7 separate regions of the Homo sapiens genome follow, and regions 1, 2, 3, 4, 5 and 6 are each linked to region 7. Evidence: promoter capture Hi-C in 16 types of primary human blood cells and fetal thymus (Javierre and others, 2016). All regions are on one chromosome and are shown on one strand. Each heading gives the region's core, a stretch centred on a gene start or on the middle of the fragment in contact. The rest is flanking DNA. Distances are from core to core; before and after follow the strand shown.

Region 1 (3,367 bases), core at 521-3,020, 440 kb after region 7:
ATCCTTGCTTGAATGTAGGAAGGACCAGTCAAGATAATATAAATCTGTCCTTGTAATGAACCCTAATTATTGAATAATCAACCTAATAACTGACTGTAATTACCTTAACTATATAGTGCATGGTTGTCTTTATGAAAAAAAAAAAAAAACAAGGTGACTCAACAGTCCTCATCATGTTTTTTTGTTTAATAAAGTTGCTTTGGTTGTAGAAAGGAGGAATTGAAGATTTTTGCAAATGGAGAGCAAAGGGAGACCATGACTCCCAAAAGAAATACAAGGTTAGAACCAGTCAAATAATTTATGAGCTCGCGGAAGAGATTTAAAAAAAAGAAAGGGAGGAAAGAGAGGGAAATGTTTACTGAGCACTTATTATGTACCTAGGCATCCTGCTGGATATTTAATACACATGTCAACACTATCCAAGAGTTTTCTGCAATGATGGAAATGTTCCATATTATTTTATTTGATTCTGCAAGAACCCTGTAAGGAAATGGAAGCTTGGAAAAAAGTGAAATAGCCATCCAAAGCCATCAGCAAGAAGCAGAGGTGGGATTCTAACTCAGGTCTGTTTCCAGTAGCCTCATAAATTTCACTACAGTGTAGTGCTGCCTAGCCCACCTCATATAAAAATGACACTTAGTATGAATAAAGATAATGCATTATACTTGCATCATTAACCACACATCACATACTTCATACACATTGTCTCATTTAATCCTCACAACTGTGTGGAGCAGGTATTTGTATTCTCAACTTACAGATAAGGAGACTGAGACCTAATCATTGTCTAAATCCTTTGGAACAGAATTGAGAAAAGTGAGTAGGTGCAATGGGGGGTGTGGGGAGCAACCTGCCCACCCTTCAGATGACCTGGAATTCTGGGTTCTGAGATTGAATAGGAAACTTCTTTGGCTTTGAATTTCACTCTTTTCTGGATTTTTACCTCTAACATTGTGTTTTCTCTACACTTGAAGAAAGAAACTCTTTAAAGTTGAGGTTGTCTATCTACCCCAACCTCCCTCATTTGAAGATGAGAAAACAGAGGTGCAAGGAGGTCCCACAATTACCTGGGGCTTATCCTTCCTGGACCTTGGTGAAATGCTCTGAGTGGATACAGTTCTCCCGTACCCTCACTTTAGGTATATTAAATATCACTCAAAAGGTTGATAACAAGTTGAGCTTAAAAATTAATTCAATCCTTTTGAAATCCAGAATTGGACACAGTCATAGGAGTATCATAAATAAAACACCTTGAATGATTCTCAATCGGACTATATTTGGCATTTTTGTTTACAGTCAAACATTCTGTTTTCCTCTCCCTAGTAGATCAAACATCCTGAAGCAACAATGCTGCAAGAATATGCCAACTTGCTTTTAAAAGAATGAACTGAGGGCCTTCAGGAGAATCTGGGTGATTAATTACAACACTCAGTAAAAAACCTATGCCTCATATATCGTTTCTCAACCCATCTTCATCCACTTATTACCATGAAGATTGTGTCAGAAATGATGGTTATATCATAATTCTGTACTAAGTAAGCCTGAATAATGGGAAATAGTTTTAAACGTGCTCTATATCAAGCACATTTCAGAATTCACATTTGTGTGCTATGAGAATGATAGCTGGGGGAATCAGACACTTGAGGTGGACTTTGCAATGGATAAATTACCAATTTAACCCAGAAAAGCTAAATAAGCCCATAGACAGTATTTTTGATTTTCTGATTCTCTGGATGTAGATTAACACCTCATAGTGTGTGTCAAATAGAAAACCTCAGTGCACAAGTAAGTAAGGGTTACCCCACAATGGCCCCCAGGCTCTTTGGGATAGAGCTACTTTTCATTTTGCAGGAGCTTACATAATGCAAAGAATAAGGGGTCTGGAGGGAGAAGTATTGGTAAGAATGCCCCTAAGCAGCACTGTGGAGAGGAGACAAGGAAATATCTAAAAGTGTCCTTCTTTATAGCAAGGGAAGGGGCCATAGTACCATTTGGAATCCCACAAGAGGAAAAAGAATGAGGCAGGAGCAGCCAGCCTGGCTATGTCCCACCATGAACAGCAAAAGTCTGAGCAGGCATCTCAGCATATAGAACCTGGGGATGTTCACAGTGTAGTCACTGAATCTATAAAAGTGCTAGATTTTTAAAAAGAAAGGTGTATTATTTACTTTTTTCTGAACAAATTCAGTTTCGACCAATTTTTCACTGTCTATAATATGCCGATAATATGCTATTTGACATTATTTGACATACTCTCTTCTAATTCTCATAACTCTTTGATGAAGTAACTATTGTTATTGCTATTTTATGGATGAATAAACTGAGACTCAGCCAAGCTCACTCAGCCAATCTCACCCAGCCAGTAAGCGCGGAGCAGGATCCCAGGCCCTGCTCTTTGAGTTCCAGACCCAGCATTCATGCCATCTCTAAATCCTGCTATTGTGCATTCATGATACCAAATTCCATGGGATCAGTGGAGCTTTAAATAGGACCAGACTTTTAAAAGGTGCCTTTGTACTGAAGTATAGCTTTGTCCTAAGAAAATGCTTTCTAAATAAAGGAATGAGCTATGTAAATATAATGGGAATTACCCAGGATTCTCTGACTCCAACTAAATTACAGAAACTTAGAGCTAAGACCTCTAAGGTCCTCTGTCTCTAGTACAGACTCCTTATTTGACAATGGATGAAACTGAGGCCTGGAGAGTAGAGTGATGCAGCCTGATGCATCCACATGGATGGTCAAGAACAGAGCCAGAACCAAAGAAAAGCTCTAAGTTTCTAGTCCAGCACAACACTTGGCGTAAAAGCATTATTACACTTTTGACAACGAGACATCTTCTACCCTAAAGACAGTGACATACATCAAATGTGTGCTATTTCTCTGACTATAACATACCTACAAGTGTTTACAAATCATAAATGTATACACACTTGCTCGAGTAAGTGCTTTCAATACTATTTTTCTTTTCAAAGTAAAAAAAAAATTATACGAACATCTAGTGAAAGTCTTTAACTGGAGGCTTTACCACTACTGAAGCTTCTTAAGCATTTTCCTTAGATGGTAAGGAATTATTTCAGTTAATATTTTAATAGCTACAATGAGCACATTCTCATCACAGAATAAGTTGCAATGACATAAACACACCTTCAAGTTACAGTCACTTCGGGCAAAAAAAAAATGTGTTCTGTGATGACTATTACAAAATACATTGAATATTAGTGTTAGCGTTGCTCAGTAACACTGATTAGAAACATGATTGCTATCACAAGTAAGAATTATGTTCACCTGAAATAATAATTTTTGTATTTTTGGAGGGCTGAACTAATTAAAAGTAATGGCAAAAATCACTTTTTCACCAACCTAA
Region 2 (3,229 bases), core at 58-2,557, 410 kb after region 7:
CAGGAAGATGGCCTACATTGCTTGACTACCCAGGTGATTGATGGGCAGGTCTCTCTCTTGTTTACTCAGGCCTTGTTTACCGACATTCCTCCTTAGAGCCAGTCAGACAAGTTTAGGGTTGTTTTTGGCCACCGGCACCTGAAGGTGAAAAGCTACAACCTTCCCTTCTAAATGTCTTTGGATACAGAAAGAAACATATATGGGAACAGTATAAATAGGGGAAAAGATCTTTAATATTTAATTCACTTGTGTAGATAGTCACGAGTATGGATCCTATTAAACTCTGCTGTCTTAATTATGATTTATCTATACTAACATACTTTACCTTTCCAAAGATATTTTTTTAAATGTCCATGGTCTCCAAAACTTTGTGACCTATTAGGCTCTCCAAATATTTTATTTGAGAATCAGATAAGTTGTGGGGAGTGAATCTAGAACACTTTGAAGAAATAGCATGGGTCTTTTCATTAAACATTTGCTATTTCTCTTTCTATTCTTTAGGGAATGGGAGTTTGTTCTGATTGTTTGACAAGGAACATTTAGCTGGAATTCTCAAGAAATAACCCTTCTTCCCCTCCCTGTGAAGAGTGACAAAGAAAAACATAGCTTAGATTCCTGCTTCAATCTATCCATCAGAGTAAATGGACATAATATCCACACATTTTGCAGAAAAGCAATAGTGAATAATTGCTGCTTGTAAGTGCAAGGCAGTCCCAATGTGAGAAGGCATCATTTATATACCAGCCATCATCACAGCTTCTTACAGGATAGTCTCAGAATATGTAAGTCATTCCTGACAATAATCATTGGACATTGCCAGAGGTTTTAAGAAATAATTCAAAATCAAACACAGATGGGTAGTCAAAAGGCCTGAAGTCCTACACCTGCATTTCCCAGCTGTGACCTTGGGGAAAACATTTAGACTTCATCAAATTTAATTTCTGTGTTTGTTAAATGAGGATCATGCCTACTTCACAGGGTTGTTGTGATGATCAAATGAAATTGTTTATGTGACACTGCTTTGAATGCTGAAAAGCACCACCCAATGTAATTTTTATGTAAGTTTTGCTTTTAGCTACAGCCCTAGACCTATTTTTGTAATTATCTCATTTTAAAATTCTTTCTTCATGAATTTAGTTATCCAGTCATGATTTTGGAGTTTTAATAGTGTTTAACTTTTAGGAGAAAAAAAAACATGATTTCCTGTGATCAGGCCCACAATTCTACTCAATAAAGCATTTTTCAGTTCTTAGGGTATGTATCGCATATCAATGAGTCAATAATGCCTGATGCCCACATCAAAGACACATGCATTGTGTAACTTACAGCTTGATGATTTACTTCCTCCAGACAAGTAGCAACTTACACTAGGCAAGTGGAATGCAGAACTCCCAGAATGACCTCTTTTAAATCAATAATTTCTCTCTCATCTGAGTGGGCAGAGTACCTCCGGTCAGTAGTTAACTGCGTACTATCTCAGGCTGCAGGATGAAAATGTGGAAAGAGCATGGAACTGGGATTCAGAAACCTTGGGACGGAGTCTCAATCCAGCCTGGGCATGTATGACCTCGAGTAAATAGGATATAACAATATAAGCCCTGCCTACCACACGGCTGCAAGGATAAAATGGAATAATAATGGTGAAAGGGTCTCATAAACTGTAAGGTGCTTTGCAGAAGGGCATTCCTATTCCCTATATTTAAACCTAGACACATGTCGTTTCCATCAATACCTTCTTCCTTTCTTTCTGGTTCAGTGCTGGGCCCAGGTGGACCTTGATATATATCATCCACACTAAAATCTGCTCCGAGCTACAAAATTAGGGTTGAGGAATCTCACTGGACTCAAGCTAAGATTGAACTGATGCAGCAGTGCCATTTTCAGTTTATCCTAGAAGTAGGATGCCTTCCTCCTATGGAGAGCAAAATATCCCCCATGCCATTCATGGTTTTAAAAAATATATGATTATAAGCTGCACAGTAAAGAGGGGAGTTAGCCACTCGAAGGCTTGCAGTTTTGTTTTTTTTTTTAAGTGTCTTCTTCGTATAAGAGAATGTAAAACCATTTGCTGGTTGTATGCATGTGGTCAAAACTTTTAAAGGCAATAAGGAGACTGGATTTTTACTAGGAGGCTAAATAAGTATCCTACACAGCCACAGGAGGAAATTTAAGGTTTTATGACAGTTCAGCATAAGTCAGCAGCTAGAGCAGAAAAGGGGCTCGTGGGGAGGGAAAGTGTAATTTTAGCACAGTTCGAAAGACAACCATGAATCAGGAAACACAGCATGGTGTCCAGAGCCTGAGGTCAAATCCTATATCTCTGCTTCTCACTCTGAGGGTCCATAATTATATTTCTTAAAAAGGGAGATATTTTAGATATATTTTTTCTAGATTTTTTTCCTTTCTTCTTGTTGACTCCACTTCATGTCATAGCTAGTTTAAACTCTTCCAAACACAGAGGTAAGTAACCACGCTTCCCCCTTTCTCCTTGCCTCTCACCCCTTAACTGTCCCCCATCACCTGCCCCCATCACACAGCCCACACCCTTTGCATCCTTACTTCCCAGAGCCAATTCCAGCAATTGCTGATCAGAAGAGACTACCCAGAAACTTTTCCTCCAGAGTTCAGTTAGTGGTAACCCCTTACCTGACGTCCCGCCAAAACTTCTCCAGTGTGACCCAGAAGCCACCTGCAATTGCATTAATAGGGGAGTCTGTATCATTCAGATTCCTGGGCCTTACCCCAGACCTCCTGTATCTGCATCTCCAGCTGTGGGACCTGGGAATCCAAATTTTAACAAAAGTCTCAGCTGAAGTGTGTGCACTGAATTAAAAGCCACTGCTTTATCACTGATGGGGGCTTTTGGCTTAAAGATCTGAATGACTTGATGACTTATTTGAGGCTTTTAGATTTGGGCATAGCTTGATAGACAACCACACATGCAGATTCCCCCCTCCTTCGTGTCTATTCGCCTGTTTATAAAATGGAGTTAATCAATAATGACCAATAATTTAATAAATATCATCAACTCATTTAATCCTCACAACCCCATCATGAAGTAGATATTATTAATAGCCCCATTTCACAGATGAGGAAACTGCTGGGCAGAAAATTTAACTGACTCATCCATGCCGCACAATAATGGGATTGAATTATCAGTACTTTTATTTCCTTAGAAAGGTCAAATAGCACCTGATACAAGAACAGAAATAATCTGTAGTAGCAACAG
Region 3 (3,108 bases), core at 10-2,509, 470 kb after region 7:
TTTCCTTGCCACCACCACCAAGTTTACAATTACAGTACTTCTACTATGATCACGGCTGCCACTAAGAAGCTACACCTCACTGGGTGCTTCCTACATGCCAGGTGCTGTACCTGCACTTCAGATATGGCATTTCATTTAATCCTCACACCACCACCATGCTGGCCATTATTATGGTCTTCCACTTTCCATATGAGGAAAGTGAGGCTCAGAGAGGTTATGAACCATGCCCAAGCAAGTAGCAGAAATAGGATTCAAGTCCAGATCTCTAAAGTCTGTGTTTTCAATCCTGGGTATCTATAACATTAGCAGAGTGCTCAGAATCATCAGTGGAAAAAAGAGGAAAAAGTGAAGTGGGGTGGTTTTGAATAGCACATGAATATGCACACCAGGATGGAGGCATTCTTTCATTTTTTCCTTTGGTCTGTTGTTAAATGTATGTATATCGTATTTCCCAATAAATTAGAAAATGGAAAAAATAAGTCATCAACCTTTTTTCTCTAAATCAAGGAACATAGAAATCTGACATATCCTTTACATCAGAATGTTGTGAACACATATATACATATATATGTGTATATATACATACACTGCATATAGGTAATATATACCCACACATACATACACACACATAAATTGTAACCAGACGCACATGGTAGTAAAATGTGTGCTTTTAAAAAGCCACTGGGTACATCTCTAAGAAAGCCTCACATGATGTAGTAACAAAATGAGCCCTGCAGTAGGGAACAAAACGAATTATTGGTATAGATCAATAGTTAATAACGGTTCAGCTACTAACATGGGGCATGTCAGAGTAACACACTGGGCAAATACACTTACAAGGAGAAATACAGAAGAATAATCCAAAATAAATTACCAATGAATTGTTTTATGATAAAAGCATAAGTTTTGGAATGGTCTTTAAAAGACAGATTTAAAATGTTTGAATCAGGCTCGGGTTTGAAGCCTTTTTTTTTTTTTTTTTTCAAATTGACTTTATTCTTTTCTCATTAAAAGAGCTGTTCCAGGCTGGGTGCGGTGGCTCACACCTGCAATTCAGCACTTTGGGAGGCCAAGGCAGGTGGATCACTTGAGGTTAGTTCAAGACCAGCCTGGCCAATATAGTGAAACCCCATCTCTACTAAAAATACAAAATTTAACAGGGCATGGTGGTGCGCACCTGTGATTCCAGCTACTCGGGAGGCTGAGGCAAAAGAATCACTTGAACTTGGGAGGTGGAGGCTGTAGTGAGCCGAGATCACACCGCTGCACTCCAGCCTGGGCAACAAAAGCGAGATTCTGTCTCAAAAAAAAAGAGCTATTCCATCCCAAAAAGGTTTTATGATGATAGTTTTACTTTGGGGATTATTACCTCTGTATATTAATATCTCAGTACAATTTTAAAACACCAATGCTTTAAAATAACACACAAACTACTGTCACCAAACCAAACCAGGTCCGTTTGCCCTCAGGCAAAGTTAAGTCAAGCACCAAAGCACTGGGTTTTGGCAGTGAGAAAGGTTTATTGTGAGTAGACTGACAAGGAAACTGAAGGAAATGCTCAAATCTGTCTCCCTGAGCTTGAGGCTAGGTCAGGTTTCATAACCATAGGGTAATGAGGATGATCTGATCCTGCAATGAGGTGATGCTGGGAGGCATGATCTGACTGGACCCTGCCATGGGGTGTCCGCTTCTTAATTCAGTCCCCACTCCTTAGTCCAAGCACTTAGGTTCCTGCACACTTGGTTCATCTGGGCATGCTCAGGGGGTCCATGGAACTGAAAAACAACTCACAACAACTCACAACTCTGTAACATAAAAGTTGAACCAGATCAGTCTGATGACGTTATGCTACTTACTAAGTCCATGTTGATAAAACTGAAAAAATACGACCTTTAAAATCTTTCTTGTAGTTCTACCAAAAGAGATTTCATTCACATTTCCACATCAAAAATGTTGGTTGGATAATTTCTGGGATACTAAGAAATAAAAAGGCAAAGACAAAATGATCATAATCATTATAACAAACCTCAGTCTTTTTTCTTTTTTTTTTGAGACAGAATTTCGCTCTTCTTGCCCAGGCTGGAGTGCACTGGCGCAATCTTGGCTCACTGCAACCTCTGCCTCCCAAGTTCAAGCGATTCTCCTGCCTCAGCCTCCTGAGTAGCTGGGGTTACAGATGCCCACCATCACACCGAGATAATTTTTGTATTTTTAGTAGAGACCGGGTTTCGCCATGTTGGCCAGGCTGGTCTTGAACTCCTGACCTCAGGTGATTCACCCACCTCAGCCTCCCAAAGTGCTGGGATTACAGGCATGAGCCACTGTGCCAGGCCCAGATCAGTCATTTTAATACGAGATTGTGACCAGCCAGAATAACTGGTTTCCATTTTTGCTCTTCGATTGATTGATCATTGTATCTAGGGTCAAATTTGCTGTATAGTTTTTCAGTTTTAACAATGCTAAGGCCCTATGTCAGTGTAATCAAGGGAAAGAATCTAAATTAGATATTAAAAACCTGAATCCAAATTCTGGTTGAATGCCATACTTATTACGATCAATAAACATAAATGGTGGCTCAACACACACTGTAGTAAATAATGTGCTTTTAAAAAGCCACCAGATAAATCTCTAATACAGCCTCCAATGACTTAGGAACAAAATGAGTCCTGCTGTAGGGAAGAAAGTGAATTATTGGTATAGATCAAATTGCCTAGAAACATCGTGTGTCAACATTAATGTCAGTTCCTTGGAACAAATATATTGCTCCTTAATTACTCCATGCTTTCAGATGATAGCTCATTTCACAGAGATGCATTTATTTTGAAAAAGTATACATAGCTACCAGCCTGTACACTCTGTCAACATAAGGGTTGGCCATAAAAACCTGTTATATTTTACTCTGGGCAGCAATTATTTAATATCCCTCAACATATGTGTCAAACGCATAAGAAATTGCTCCAGGCTTTTCCACATTTTCATTGCTTAAAAAAGTAGAAAACGCCAAACAATGAGGCCTTCATAGAACCTGAGGCATCAAAAATATTAGCTGCATTGTGAAAGCCAAATAGGAGCAACTTATTCTTAAAAAAGAATACAATTAATAAACCA
Region 4 (3,465 bases), core at 398-2,897, 490 kb after region 7:
CACACCTGTCTCGTGTTTCTGACTCTAGTTTGGTTCATCTGAAATACACAGGCACAGGCCATCCGTCCCATTGAGCTGGACAGTCCCAACCATAGGAAGCAGCCCTCTCCAAAACTGGGTCCATTGAAAGAGAAATGTCATTGTAACATCTTCTGCAAGTAGATTTTTCATCTATATGCCTCCATCATGCATTTCGTTCTTTCATGCATCATGTTCTTTCATTCAGCCAATACTGAATGAACACTAACTAGGTGCTGGGCACCATGCTGGGGACTGAGGAATATTATGGTGGACACAATATGATTTATGAGGATACAGGGATGGACAGAGGGACCAGCACACAGAGGGATAATGAGAGCACAGGCAGATCATCCAGTTCAGTTTTGAGAGCATCTGTGAAGGCTCCTATGAAGCAATGTTGTCGAACCTGAGACATGAGGGAGGAATGGGAGTTCACCAGACCACAGGGGCTAAAAGAAATGTCCTAAGTAGAAACATCAAAGGCAAGGCACTCAATAAGGTGTGATGACTCAAGTTGAGTTAAATTATCCTTCTGTAAAATCACAAGAAAGTAGACCAAACCCTGGGGCATCTAGAGTTGCATTTTATGACTCTGTTATGTTAAATAACTATGTCATTATTTTTTCTATATATTTTCATGTAGAAATACTTGAAATGAACATCATTTTTGACATAATAGTCACTGTAGCTGGGGATAAACTAAATCCTTGTAAACTCCTATCCAGTTGAAAATGTCATTCTTGGCCGGGCACGGTGGCTCACGCCTGTAATCCCAGCACTTTGGGAGGCCGAGGCAGGCAGATCACCTGAGGTCAGAACTTCAAGACCAGCCTGGCCAACATGGCAAAATGCTGTCTCTACTAAAAATGCAAAAATTAGCCGGGCATGGTGGCGGATGCCTGTAACCCCAGCTACTCGGGAGGCTGAGGCAGGATAATTGCTTGAACCTGGGAGGCAGAGGTTACAGTGAGCCGAGATCGTACCATTGCACTCCAGTCTGGGCAACAGAGCAAGATTCTGTCTCAATAAATAAATAAATAAATAAATAAATAAATAAATAAAAAAGAAAATGTCATTCTTTCTCATGTATTTTCCAGATTAAGGATGCTCAACTGCAAAATGCTCGGTGTGTCCTGCAAATTGATAATGCTAAACTGGCTGCTGAGGACTTCAGACTGAAGTAGGTTCCCTAATACGTGGCAAAAGTTTCTGAAAAAGAATTCCTTTAGTAGTCCTTCCAGATACTCAGCTTTCCATATCATTGTTGATAAAGGAAGCACGGTTCAATGTCCAGAATCCTGAAGCCTAAAGGAGGTTAGAAGCTACATGTATGAAGCTAACCCAGCACTCAGGGATGGCCTTCTCTTTCTTGATCCCCCGGCATGTAACTAAACACCTCCAGTAACTACTATTCTCCTTGGTTATTACTGGTTGCTAAATTTTTTTTTAGTAACCTGGTATCTAAACCTAATTCTGCCCTTTGGAGTAATAACAAAGTAATTTACAATTCTCCTTCTCCCTAAGTGCCTTTCTGTTATCTAAAGAGAGTCTTGTGTCTACCCTTGGTGATTCTCCAAGTAATTCTCCACGTTCATTCAAGTGCCTGCAAGTGTATGACCCAAGTTCCAGGGGTGACTCTTGATGATTTCTGGCTTGCCAGTGTTTTACAGGATGGTCTGGCCAACCAAAGAACCAGGACCAATCTATAATAATTAGCTGGGCGTGATGCCGTATGTCTGTAATCCCAGCTACTCCGGAGGCTGAGGCAGGAGAATCGCTTGAACCTGGGAGGCGGAGGTTTCAGTGAGCTGAGATCGTGCCATTGCACTGCAACCTGGGCAACAGACTGAGACCTTGTCTCAAAAAAAAAAAGGAAGAAAGAAAGAAAAGAAAAAGAAAGTAAAAATTGTGTTCACTTTCTTTGTAGTCATCACACCACATGTGACCAGACCTGTTCCTTGCAAACAGCTTCCACACTAAGGCCTCTTCATCCTGAATTTGTACAATGCATTAACACCAAAAAGCCCTTTGTGGTTAGAAGGGTAGCCTTTTAATGCTCCAAGGGATTAACAAGAAGGAAATAGGAAATCAAATCCAAAGATGAAAGCAGTAAAGGTGCATTACTTCCAATTTTACCTAGCACTGAGTGTCACATTGCAGTGTCATTTTTTAAAGTTGGATATTTTAGGAAACTGGGCAGGGCATGCATGATGGCTAACGCCTGTAATCCCAGCACTTTGAGAGGCTGAGGCAGGAGGCTCACTTGAGTCCTGGAGTTTGAGAACAGCTTGGGCAACGTGGCAAAACCACATCTCTATACAAAAATACAAAAAAAATTAGCTGGGCATGGTGGCATACATCTGCTGTCCCAGCTACTTGGGAGGCTGAGGTGAGAGGATTGCTTGAGCCCCAAAGGTTGAGGCTGCAGTGAGCCATGATCACACCATTGTACTCCAGCCTGAGTGACAGAGTGGGACCCTGTCTCAAATACACACACACACACACACACACACACACACACACAGTGTGTATGTAAGATTGTAGAGGAGGATGTAGAGCTGTTTGAGATAATTCACTTTGGATGTCTCTGTTCACAAAGTAATAAAAATAAATCGATCATGTACATTCATTAAGTAAAACTAACCATTATTTAATATCAATAATAAGAACCCTTTGCCAACACAATAATTAACACAATTTAATTTCTTATAAGATAAATTCTAGAATTTAGAAGTGTTCAAAATTATTTCAGATTGCCTTTTTACCAGTCACCCCAAATTATAGAGATTATATTATTGAGCACATTTTCTGACTCCTAGGTTCTTATGTAAATTTCATGATTGTGTAAAGGCAGACATTATAAAGTATTGAAATTGATCTCCTCATAAGCCACATTTAAAAACCTATCCCATTATATTAGATTCTCTCCTTATAATGGCTTCAGAAGGACCAGTTATCTCTGTACACTAATTAATTCACAGGTATGAGACTGAGAGAGGAATACGTCTAACAGTGGAAGCTGATCTCCAAGGCCTGAATAAGGTCTTTGATGACCTAACCCTACATAAAACAGATTTGGAGATTCAAATTGAAGAACTGAATAAAGACCTAGCTCTCCTCAAAAAGGAGCATCAGGAGGTGAGAAAATATTCAGAAGTGGTATTGGAAACAATGGAATGGTTCTATATAATACTAATAATAGGAGGAGCGGGAGAAACAGGAGAAGGGGGAAGAGTTGGTGGTGATAGTGACAGAGATGATGACGATGACAATAATGATACAAGCCCTACCTTCTTTTCATAATGTTGTTGTAAGTTAAATGACTTAGAGCAGCACCTGGACCACAATAAGCCCAACACAAGTTATTATTTTATATCTTTTTTACTTATTCCCAATGAAAGAGGTCATGAGACTCCTTATGTCTTTTCTGCCCAGCCTTATCTG
Region 5 (3,248 bases), core at 8-2,507, 510 kb after region 7:
ACTTTCTGATTTTGTCATTTTCATTATAAGGCAATGACAATAGGAATGCTAACAGTCCTAATTCAGTGATTTTAAAAAGACTGAGTATTTTAAAAGTTAAAACAAAAGTCTACCAATAATATATAATGTTTTATATGTCAGAGAAACTGGTTATACTTAGCATAATGCACACCAGAAAACTCTGAGGTGCCATGGTGCATATTGGAGGCTAGGTAGGGAAGGGATGCTGGCAATAGGAAGTTTCTACTAGATTTTCGATGATTGTGGCACAAACAGCGTGCAAGCCCAGGTACTGTCTGCAGCCCTCGGTTTGGCAGCTGTAGGTGAAAACCCCAGTGAGTGTACGCCAGGCCTCCTTTCACGTGAAGGTCGTGGTCCCTCAAGAAGCAGAGCCAACTTACCCATTAGGCACAGCAGGCACTGCTCCCAGGGTCTGTGGTAATTTCAGGGACCCATGAATATGTCTTAAGTTCTTGTAATATCAGAAGAAAAATATGAATTTTGAGGTTAAAAAAGTTTTAATGTATTACATTAATATATTTGTCTTTATACCAACAGTCATAAGATAGAATTTTTAAGTGTGTGTGTGTGTGTGTGTGTGTGTGTGTGTGTGTGTAGGAAGGGGCCCAAGAGGACAAAAGTATCCAGGGCCCACGAAAGTCACAATGGACCCCTGTGCCCCTCTCTCTCACATGCTGTCCCCAGGAGCTCCAAAGCTTCCGGGTGGGCGGCCCAGGCGAGGTCAGCGTAGAAATGGACGCTGCCCCCGGAGTGGACCTCACCAGGCTCCTCAATGATATGCGGGCGCAGTATGAAACCATCGCTGAGCAGAATCGGAAGGACGCTGAAGCCTGGTTCATTGAAAAGGTAACACAAACAACAAAGGCTTTGATACATTCACAGAAAGGCCTGCGAACGAGCTCAGCGCTCGAGCCCCCTGGCTGTCTTTGCTGTTGCAGAGCGGGGAGCTCCGTAAGGAGATTAGCACCAACACCGAGCAGCTTCAGTCCAGCAAGAGCGAGGTCACCGACCTGCGTCGCGCCTTTCAGAACCTGGAGATCGAGCTACAGTCCCAGCTCGCCATGGTAGGCTCGTGCGCAAACAGACGTAGCATCCTTTGGACTTCCAAAGAAAATGCTGCATCCAAATTACATTAGCCGTTGGCTACCCTCCTCTTTTCGGTCCCCTCCATCGTTATTTCTATGCCATTTCCCTCCCACGTGCAGAAGAAATCCCTGGAGGACTCCTTGGCCGAAGCCGAGGGCGATTACTGCGCGCAGCTGTCCCAGGTGCAGCAGCTCATCAGCAACCTGGAGGCACAGCTGCTCCAGGTGCGCGCGGACGCAGAGCGCCAGAACGTGGACCACCAGCGGCTGCTGAATGTCAAGGCCCGCCTGGAGCTGGAGATTGAGACCTACCGCCGCCTGCTGGACGGGGAGGCCCAAGGGTGAGCAGACAACGGAGGCTGTAAACACCTTCAGGGGCTGACCAAGAGTGGGCAGCAGAAATAGAAGGAATGGGGTTTTAGTTGACAGAAAAGCAAACAAACAAACACAAGTCTAGTAAAGATATGCCTGGGATTTACTAAATGCTCTACACTTTGCAAAGTGTTTTCACCCATTATCTTACTTGATAATTCATAAAATGCTGCAAAGAACAAAGGCACCACGGTCAGAAACAGTTTGTAAATGAGTACTCCCTGTACTATAAAAGTCACTTACTCAATTTCTGATATCAAAGACCTGATGATAAGAAGGACACATAGTAGCCACCTGAACCACCTACTCTAACAAGCTTTCCAAAAGTGATCAGAGTCTGCACTAGTTGGAAGAACTCAGGCCTACAAATTGGGAAATCTAATTTCTCAGACCAGATCTTCCATTAAAAGCCAGGTTGTTTCACTTTTTGAGGTCATCTCCTTTGTTTTCTTACAGTGATGGTTTGGAGGAAAGTTTATTTGTGACAGACTCCAAATCACAAGCACAGTCAACTGATTCCTCTAAAGGTATGCAGAAACCCTAGAATCACTTAGAATAAGTCGGAATCACATTTATTAATGCAAAACCTGTAAGACCTCATTGACTACTGCATTATTATTAATTTTAATTTAAAGCATATTTATATTCTGAGCCAAGGAAAAACATTTATGCATTCCTGCACAAAATGAGTAGTCTATACCATATTAAAACTTTTGGGGGCCTGGGCATGGTGGCTCATGCCTGTAACCTCATAGCTTCGGGAACCTGAGGTGGGAGGATCGCTTGAGGCCAGGAGTTCGTGACCCACCTGGGCAAATAGCGAGACCCCATCTCTACAAAAAACTTAAGAAAAAAAATAGCTGGGTGTGGTGGTGTATACCTGTGATCTCGGCTACTCTGGAGGCTGAGGCAGGAGGACCGCTTGAGCCCGGGAGTTAGAGGTTATAGTGAGCTATGATCATGCCACTGCATTCCTACCTGGGCAACAGAGCCAGACCCTGTCTTTAAGAAAATTAAAATTAAAATTAAAAAATAAAAAAAATGGCAAAGCAGAAGGGAAAAAACCTACTCTGCTGCAAGGTATTATGATCACCATAACCACCTTTGAAATGTTTTCTTAAAAAAAGTTTTCATATATGTACAAGGCAACACTGAATACATTTCATTGTCATTGGCTAAAACACATTTTTGAGAAGTAAAATTTACTTTTGAAAGTTTAATTAGATGGATTGTATCAACCAATGCTTAATTTAGAAGCCTACATTAAACAACCAGTGTTGGATTAATATTTGAAACACTAACTCTTGCCCCCTTATTCCATTTTTATCTTTAGACCCAACCAAAACCCGAAAAATCAAGACAGTTGTGCAGGAGATGGTGAATGGTGAGGTGGTCTCATCTCAAGTTCAGGAAATTGAAGAACTAATGTAAAATTTCACAAGATCTGCCCCATGATTGGTTCCTTAGGAACAAGAAATTTACAAGTAGAAATTATTCCTTTCAGAGTAACATGCTGTATTACTTCAATCCCTATTTTTGTCTGTTCCATTTTCTTTGGATTCCCTATTCACATTGAATCCTTTTTGCCCTTCTGAAACAATATTCAGTCACAAGTCATTTTGGTCATGTTGGTCTTTGTAACAAATCAAAATTACCTTATATCCTTCTGGACCTGGAGTAGTCTTTTAACGAACTTTCTTCTGGTAACCCGGAATATTTTTTAATCATAGAGCTTTAATCAAGTAGTATTGTTTTAATAGAGTTAATTGT
Region 6 (3,510 bases), core at 651-3,150, 460 kb after region 7:
CTATAGGCAGCCAGCTACCATGTGAGAAGTTCAATTACCCTGAGACACCATACTGTGAGGAAGTCTAAGCTAGCCTCTTGGAGAGCCCACACCAAGGAAAGCTGAGGAATCCAGGCAACAGCCATAACTGAAGCTCCAGGCAACAGCTGTAACTGAGGCTCCAGGCATATGACTGAGTCAAGCCATTCCAGCCAGTTTCCAGCCATTCAAGACAATGCCACTGCCCCCAGGCATCACAGAGCAGAGACAGGCCATCCCTGCTATTCTGAATCCAAAATTCTGTCCCACAAAATAATTGTGAACAAATACAATGGTGGTTGTTTTAAGCCAGTGAGTTTTGGGGTCATTTTTCATGCCGCAATAGGCAAGTGAAACAGAGTATTTTAAACAGAAGACTCTGTTATTTGCTCAGTGACAATAGCTGATTTAAGGCGAACTAGTTCATTTGCATCCCACCAAACTTTTGACCAGCATACTAGTCATTTTAACACTGACATGGACCTCTAATGAAAGTCCTGGTCTAATAACAATAGATGACATCAAAACTTTCAAGAGAAAAGCAAAGGTCTACCCTCTTCAGAGATGGTAAAGAGTAAAGCCATTGCACATGATGTTCACAGCTCTCCTCTCTGCTCCTTCCCAAGTGGGACCAAGCAGTGTAGCTCCAACCTGAAGTCAGGGCATCCCCTGCTCCTCACTTAAGCATGCTGGGATGCCCAAGGAAATTCTTTTTCTTCTCGTTGAGTTTCAATTCCTTTTGACTCTCTTTTAGTTCCTCATTCCAGGGACATTAACAATTTCTCTACAAATATTTATGCCTCCAATACCACACAAACCAACAGTTTCACTGAAAGGAGATCTCTTTTCAACATAGTTAAGCAATGTTCTCCCTCACCAAGAAACTATAAGTCATTTACAAATTAAGGTGATCATAATTATTACGTAGCTTCTAGTCATAATATTTAAAAGTCATTAAGAGTATAATTCATTTATTCTAGCCATGATTATTCACAATGCTATACTCTAAATGCTATACTTTTCTACAGCTTTTAATCAATAAATACTTTTCAGATTTTTGGTGTTTACATATCACCTGAAGTATTTTGTTGGTTATTTCCCTATGGTAACAACATTGGTTTTCCGAATGACTATAGGCCTACTTTCATTCCCATGTGTGACTCATTCCCATCTCATCTATTCTATTACAACATCTACGTGTCACCATCTCTCTGAAGAGAGTTAGAGAGTTTCTAAAATATACTGGAGGTGAGATCATGCAAAAAGGAAAAGACAGTGCTTCTCACATACCTAACGATCTGATGATCTAATCATACTCAGAAGTTTTACCTTGAACTTTGTGTGTGTGTGTAACTATTTCAGTACATGGGTTGTCCTACTCACCCAAACTTCCCATTGAAATTTAAATGGGAATTCATCTAATAAAATTATGAGTCATCTAATAGAAACTACAAGTCAATTTTTGCTAATTCCATGGTATGCATACGCAGCATAGCATGTATGCATTGACATACACACACATGTACCAGAAGTTTTTTAAATAACAACTATCCTTGACTGAGCTTTACATTCACAATCTCATTTAACATTTATCAAAACCTTGTGGCATATCATTATCTTTATTTTATGATTGGGGAAACTGAGGCTCAAATGGACTGCATTAACTTGCCTGTGGTCATACAGCTATAAAATGGTGGAAACAGAATTTGTACCCAGTATATTTACTCTTTGTGCCACACAAGTCAAAAGTGCTTGCTAGAGAGTTATGTAAAATCTGAATATGGGCAACACATTTTGATGAGCCCTTGCTGATGGCTTTTATCTAAGGTAAGAGCCCAGGTATGAGAAATCTGGATTTTCTATTTGAAAATCAGAACTCATATTTTTCAGAGGCAATTGGTAGTTTGACATCATTTACCTGGATCTTGTTCTGACAAGATCCATGAGTCAGAAATAGACACTCAGGACCAGAGGACAGGTTTTTATAACCAAAAGCTACCTTCTCATTAATCAAACCTCAAAGCATCCACTGCTTTCATACAGAGGTGTGTTCTTAACTTGTTTTAGCCTAAAACGAATCAGCATCAGGGACGATGATTGCTTCCCTGAGAGAGTTTAGCAAGTTCCAAACCTGGAGGACCTCAGACCCCAACCTGTCCAGTTAGACTCCACACTCACTCCTGTTTTCTATCAAAATTTTCTTTCCCCACACACTCACAGAATATGATAGGACAAGAAAGACAAAGACAGGGTAGTAATAATGGACAGGCCACAGATACACCCAATACCATCAACAGTCATCAGCTGAGAATATTTTATCCAGAGATTCATCACAAAAAAAATATTGTGAAAATGTTCATGTATCATCCCCAGCACCCTAGGAAGCAGTAGTTTCAGGTCACCACCCAGTCCCAAGCCTTATATGTCAGTGCTTCCGAAATCTTAATGTGCATACTTATCATATGGGGATCTTGTTAAAATGCAGATTCTGATCTAATTGTTCTGGGTTGAGGCCCAAGATTTTGGACATCTAACAAGCTCCCAGAGGATGCTAAGGCTGCTGATCCACGAGTCGCAAGATTATGGGTGATTTTGATCAATTAGCAATTCGATGCATTCCCCACAGTGAGTGTCGTGTCTATAAACCAGTCTCAATAGGTCCTCTATCAACTGAACAGGATAAACAACACAGCAGGAAAGGTGGCATCGTTAGAATCCCACTAGCACAGTCTTGCTCCAAGCAAGCTAAACCTGCAAGAGCACTAAGTCAGGCCTGGAAGGAAGATGTTTCTTAGGTTCTCACCAAGAACAGAAGACAGAATGAAGTCTAGAAATTAAGATCGATCACTTTGTCCCAAATTTTTCCTGGACTCCATGCGTAGTAAAAGCTATGAGAGGTTCACAAATCAGATTCACAGGAGAGGATGGAAAACACTTGTCCAGGATTGTCTATTGTGTTAGCTAACTAGCACTAAAAAATATACGTCTATATTTATGTATAAGTGAGTATTCACTTATAAAAATCTTTCTAAATTCTCTTCAAGGGCCATTTCTTTCTTCAGTGAACCAAATGATGGCTGAAGTTTTAAGAATAAAAACAACAGCCAGACGCAGTGGCTCATGCCTGTAATCCCAGCACTTTGGGAGGCCGAGGCGGGTGGATCACGAGGTCAGGAGATGGAGACCATCCAGGCTAACCCGGTGAAACCCCGTCTCTACTAAAAATACAAAAAATTAGCCAGGCATGGTGGCGGGTGCCTGTAGTCCCAGCTATTCGGGAGGCTGAGGCAGGAGAGTGGCGTGAACCCGGGAGGCGGAGCTTGCAGTGAGCCGAGATTGCGCCACTGCACTCCAGCCTGGGCGACAGAGAGAGACTCCATCTGAAAAAAAAAAAATAATAAAAAAAAATAAACAACAATAACTCTAACTGTGAAATTGCGTCCTATTCCATACTAAATTAAATCAGCTTAGACAGGCTGCTTTCATTTGTGT
Region 7 (3,291 bases), core at 221-2,720:
CCAAGCTGTGAAGGCAAGTTTGAAGGAAGGGTGATCTGAGGAATGGCAGGTCACCTGTAGGAAAAGAATTCTTGTATGGCAAGACTTAATATGTAGCTTCCAAAAGGAACAACTTGGAGGAGTATCTTTCAGAATTTGAGCACTGATAGATTAAACATAAAATCCTCATATTTCATAGTTCCATCTGGAATGCATGAGAGTAGAGCATCTGCTTGCCAAAATGTGCCAATGGTCATAAAATGCCACTTCATGCACATGACATAGTGGTGGATTTTCAGGGTCATATCCTTTGGAGAGCTAGGCTTGGGTATTTCTCCCTCAGATCAACCAAGGGTTTCCTTTTTTTTTTTTTTTCAAGCTTCTAGTGGGTATGAGGCATTTTCACTTAGTAAACTTCCTTCCTTCAGCATAGAAGTGACTTTTGGTTCTTTAATAAGTAAAAAACAGGCTTGTTATTTTTTGGCCCATTCTAATTTAGGATATTGTCAGCACTGATTGAGCTCAATGGAGCTCAATCTGTATTTTTTGCATTATTGCATCTCAGTACTGAAAAGATTGGAAGAGAGAGACATGTAATATGACAGAGTGTGGACATTGGAATTAGAGAGATCTGTATTTGAACCCTGGCTCCATCATGTAGGAGCTCTGTGACCTTGGGAGACCTCTCAGAGGCTTAGGGTCCTTATCTACAAACCCTTGCAGCATTTTGAGAGGACTGAAGGAGCTGGTGCATATGAGGTGCCTGGCACTGTGCCTGGTGCACAGTGGAGGCTCAGCAAGCAGGACCCATCACCAATGACAGAGTCACGCTGTGCACAGGCATGGAGCACAGTGCTTCATGCAGAGTAGGTGCTCCCAAAATTTAGGTTTCTTAATGTTCTGTGAACACTGAATACTAGTAGAAACGGAGGTGGGTGGCTTCCTGCAGCCCCATAGGAAGAGGGTAGAGTTGCCTCCATCTGCCTGGATGGAACTGCAAATGGGCCTTGAACCAATGGCCTTGTAAGTCCTTTCTCATTTCAGCTTCCAGGATTCCCTATCACATAGTCTAGTTTCTAGACGGGTTTCCTTACATGGCTTTTCTCACAGAGTCTTAATTGAATATGAACTGGATGAGACACAAGCCTTTCCTCATTTAGGAGAAAGAGGCACATATGTGCCCCCTACTCTGGGGACAGGGCCCAGCTGTCACTCTAGCTCAATGTCCCATGGATAAGCACTGCTACAGGCAAGGTTGGTCACTTTGAAGCCAAACCATGAAGCTCTTACTTAACCAATCAGCATGTTTTGTGAGGAGTCCTGACTTAGCAAGAAGCCAGAGTAAAACATTTAATGAGGTATAGGACTCAGGTGAAGTGGCTAAATAACAAATGGAAAAATCAGCAAAGGAGGTAAAAAGGAGGAATACTTGACATGGTTGCCACACCCACTGCTAACAGAATATAAAGCCCTGGAAAGGACCAAGGCTTATCCCAGGGAAAAGGAATCAGGTTTTGAAACTGACTTCCAGAGCTCCACTGCCTCCCTGCACCATGCCCTACAACTTCTGCCTGCCCAGCCTGAGCTGCCGCACCAGCTGCTCCTCCCGGCCCTGTGTGCCCCCCAGCTGCCACGGCTACACCCTGCCCGGGGCCTGCAACATCCCTGCCAATGTGAGCAACTGCAACTGGTTCTGCGAGGGCTCCTTCAATGGCAGCGAGAAGGAGACTATGCAGTTCCTGAACGACCGCCTGGCCAGCTACCTGGAGAAGGTGCGTCAGCTGGAGCGGGACAACGCGGAGCTGGAGAACCTCATCCGGGAGCGGTCTCAGCAGCAGGAGCCCTTGCTGTGCCCCAGCTACCAGTCCTACTTCAAGACCATTGAGGAGCTCCAGCAGAAGGTGAGGAGGTGGGCACCACACTGCCAGCTTAATGAACTACTTATCTATATTTGACATACTAAACTGTGAATGGATCTAAGTCTGTTCACAGTAATGCTGAGAATGATAAAGACATAGATTCACTGGCTTAGGTATGACATCAAGTAGTCTTAGAAAATCTGTTGTAGAGCCACAAAGGAAGGATGCAGGCTGGTGTTAGAGTGAAGCATTAGACCAAAATCAGTCATAGCAATCTTATATGGCGTCTTACTCCAAACCAGAATATCTGATTTTTTGGTTTGATTATGATACCCTGGTTTTGTTTTCAGAGCATTACCGCATTTTCAAAAAGTATGCACCTGAATTATTTTCTATGCTAAGAATTTCCTAAGTAAATCTTCAAATATTTAAAGCCTTTCAAAGCTGTAGCAAAATATAGCATTTATGGCAACACAAGAGAGCTGTTGACTCCAGCAATATCTACAGACACATGGACCATCCTCTAGAGCAGCCATGTGTACAGATGACAATATGGGGCCATCTGTTCTGGAAGAGAAGTAGATATAAGTAAAGAGTCCACAGAGAATTGGGACTGAATACCTGGTGTAGGTTTGGGAGGGATCCCAGAAGAGGCAATGTCTGAGTGGGGTTTGAAGGATGAGTGGGAGTTTATATCCAATTGTACAAGCCCTTGATTCTGGGAGGGAATTGACTGCCCACTGTTCTGTAGATCTGGAAAATTAGATGCCAGAAAGGGGTTGTGCTATTTGAATATCATTCATTTATTTACCCAGAGTTGGAGAGTGTTAGGCACAGTGCTGGGGTGGGGGATAATGTACTGAGTAAGACAGTCTCCTTCCTTCAGGAGCTCACAGTCTAACAGGGGAGATAGATGTGGAAACAAAATGATCACACAAAGGTCATAAGAAGTGTTATTGATTAAGTATGTGGGTTACACAAGGGGTCTTGCTAGTGGGTGAGGGCATTCTGGGTACAGCAAGAAGCTTTTTGCAAAGGCATGAACAAGGGCAATATGAGGGGAGAGTGGAGAGAAGTTAGCAGGTGGAATGTGTTGGATAACCAAGTTGTTCTGGCTTGCCTGGGATTTTTCCCATTTTAGCATCCCAGAAACCCCTCAGTCCTAAGTTAACTGGGATGGTTGGTCACCCAACCGAAGGGTTGGATACCCAGTAACCTAATTATTGCAGGAAGCCAGAAGCAGATAAGAATAGAATTCATGATGAATTCACATTGGTTGTCCTGGTTTTGAAATGATCAGTTTTATGATCAAATCCTCCTTTTATCTCAGAGCTGAAAATCTGAAAGGACTCAAAGCTATTTGGGAGGAATGTGGCTGAAAGAAAATAGCATTTCACTTTAAGGCACAAGGCATTTCTTAGTATAACCCATTTCATGATTAATCCTATCCCCA

The links. The method cuts DNA at HindIII sites, captures the fragments that hold promoters and counts their contacts. A CHiCAGO score of 5 or more calls a contact.
Region 1: a contact is called between a fragment that was not itself captured here and the fragment with the promoter of KRT33B in region 7, in 10 of 17 cell types (total B cells, naive B cells, naive CD8 T cells and 7 more). The highest score is 9.8, in total B cells.
Region 2: a contact is called between a fragment that was not itself captured here and the fragment with the promoter of KRT33B in region 7, in 2 of 17 cell types (total B cells and naive B cells). The highest score is 5.4, in total B cells.
Region 3: a fragment that was not itself captured here is called in contact with the fragment with the promoter of KRT33B in region 7 in 14 of 17 cell types (M2 macrophages, naive B cells, neutrophils and 11 more); the score reaches 11.2 in M2 macrophages.
Region 4: a contact is called between a fragment that was not itself captured here and the fragment with the promoter of KRT33B in region 7, in 6 of 17 cell types (M2 macrophages, neutrophils, M1 macrophages and 3 more). The highest score is 7.3, in M2 macrophages.
Region 5: a contact is called between a fragment that was not itself captured here and the fragment with the promoter of KRT33B in region 7, in 7 of 17 cell types (M1 macrophages, naive B cells, megakaryocytes and 4 more). The highest score is 7.3, in M1 macrophages.
Region 6: a contact is called between a fragment that was not itself captured here and the fragment with the promoter of KRT33B in region 7, in 11 of 17 cell types (naive B cells, total B cells, naive CD8 T cells and 8 more). The highest score is 9.9, in naive B cells.

What each region holds. Positions count from the first base shown.
Region 1 is chr17:40,931,894-40,935,260 of GRCh38, reverse strand. The region is part of intron 2 of KRT23 (keratin 23); the gene reads left to right. All of the region lies in intron 1 of LOC107985072 (a long non-coding RNA gene), which reads right to left. Among named protein-coding and RNA genes, the nearest start is that of KRT23, 4.1 kb to the left of the region's middle. The HindIII fragment of the contact is 2,542 bases long and covers 500-3,041 here.
Region 2 is chr17:40,955,115-40,958,343 of GRCh38, reverse strand. All of the region lies in intron 1 of LOC107985072 (a long non-coding RNA gene), which reads right to left. Among named protein-coding and RNA genes, the nearest start is that of KRT39, 10 kb to the left of the region's middle. RefSeq lists an enhancer at 610-1,809. The HindIII fragment of the contact is 4,733 bases long and covers 1-3,229 here.
Region 3 is chr17:40,896,824-40,899,931 of GRCh38, reverse strand. The region is part of intron 1 of LOC105371777 (a long non-coding RNA gene); the gene reads right to left. Among named protein-coding and RNA genes, the nearest start is that of KRT20, 13 kb to the right of the region's middle. The HindIII fragment of the contact is 7,559 bases long and covers 1-3,108 here.
Region 4 is chr17:40,880,308-40,883,772 of GRCh38, reverse strand. It overlaps KRT20 (keratin 20), which reads left to right. Exons shown (of 8, transcript NM_019010.3): 2 at 1,119-1,201; 3 at 3,003-3,159. The region is part of intron 1 of LOC105371777 (a long non-coding RNA gene); the gene reads right to left. Among named protein-coding and RNA genes, the nearest start is that of KRT20, 3.2 kb to the left of the region's middle. The HindIII fragment of the contact is 6,076 bases long and covers 1-3,465 here.
Region 5 is chr17:40,861,322-40,864,569 of GRCh38, reverse strand. KRT12 (keratin 12) reads left to right here. Exons shown (of 8, transcript NM_000223.4): 4 at 706-867; 5 at 960-1,085; 6 at 1,227-1,447; 7 at 1,935-2,005; 8 at 2,812-3,248. The coding sequence ends at 2,909. The region is part of intron 1 of LOC105371777 (a long non-coding RNA gene); the gene reads right to left. Among named protein-coding and RNA genes, the nearest start is that of KRT12, 4.3 kb to the left of the region's middle. The HindIII fragment of the contact is 1,078 bases long and covers 719-1,796 here.
Region 6 is chr17:40,913,145-40,916,654 of GRCh38, reverse strand. The region is part of intron 1 of LOC105371777 (a long non-coding RNA gene); the gene reads right to left. Among named protein-coding and RNA genes, the nearest start is that of KRT23, 23 kb to the left of the region's middle. The HindIII fragment of the contact is 3,918 bases long and covers 1-3,510 here.
Region 7 is chr17:41,367,992-41,371,282 of GRCh38, reverse strand. KRT33B (keratin 33B) reads left to right here and starts at 1,470. Exons shown (of 7, transcript NM_002279.5): 1 at 1,470-1,880. The coding sequence starts at 1,533. The HindIII fragment of the contact is 2,505 bases long and covers 361-2,865 here.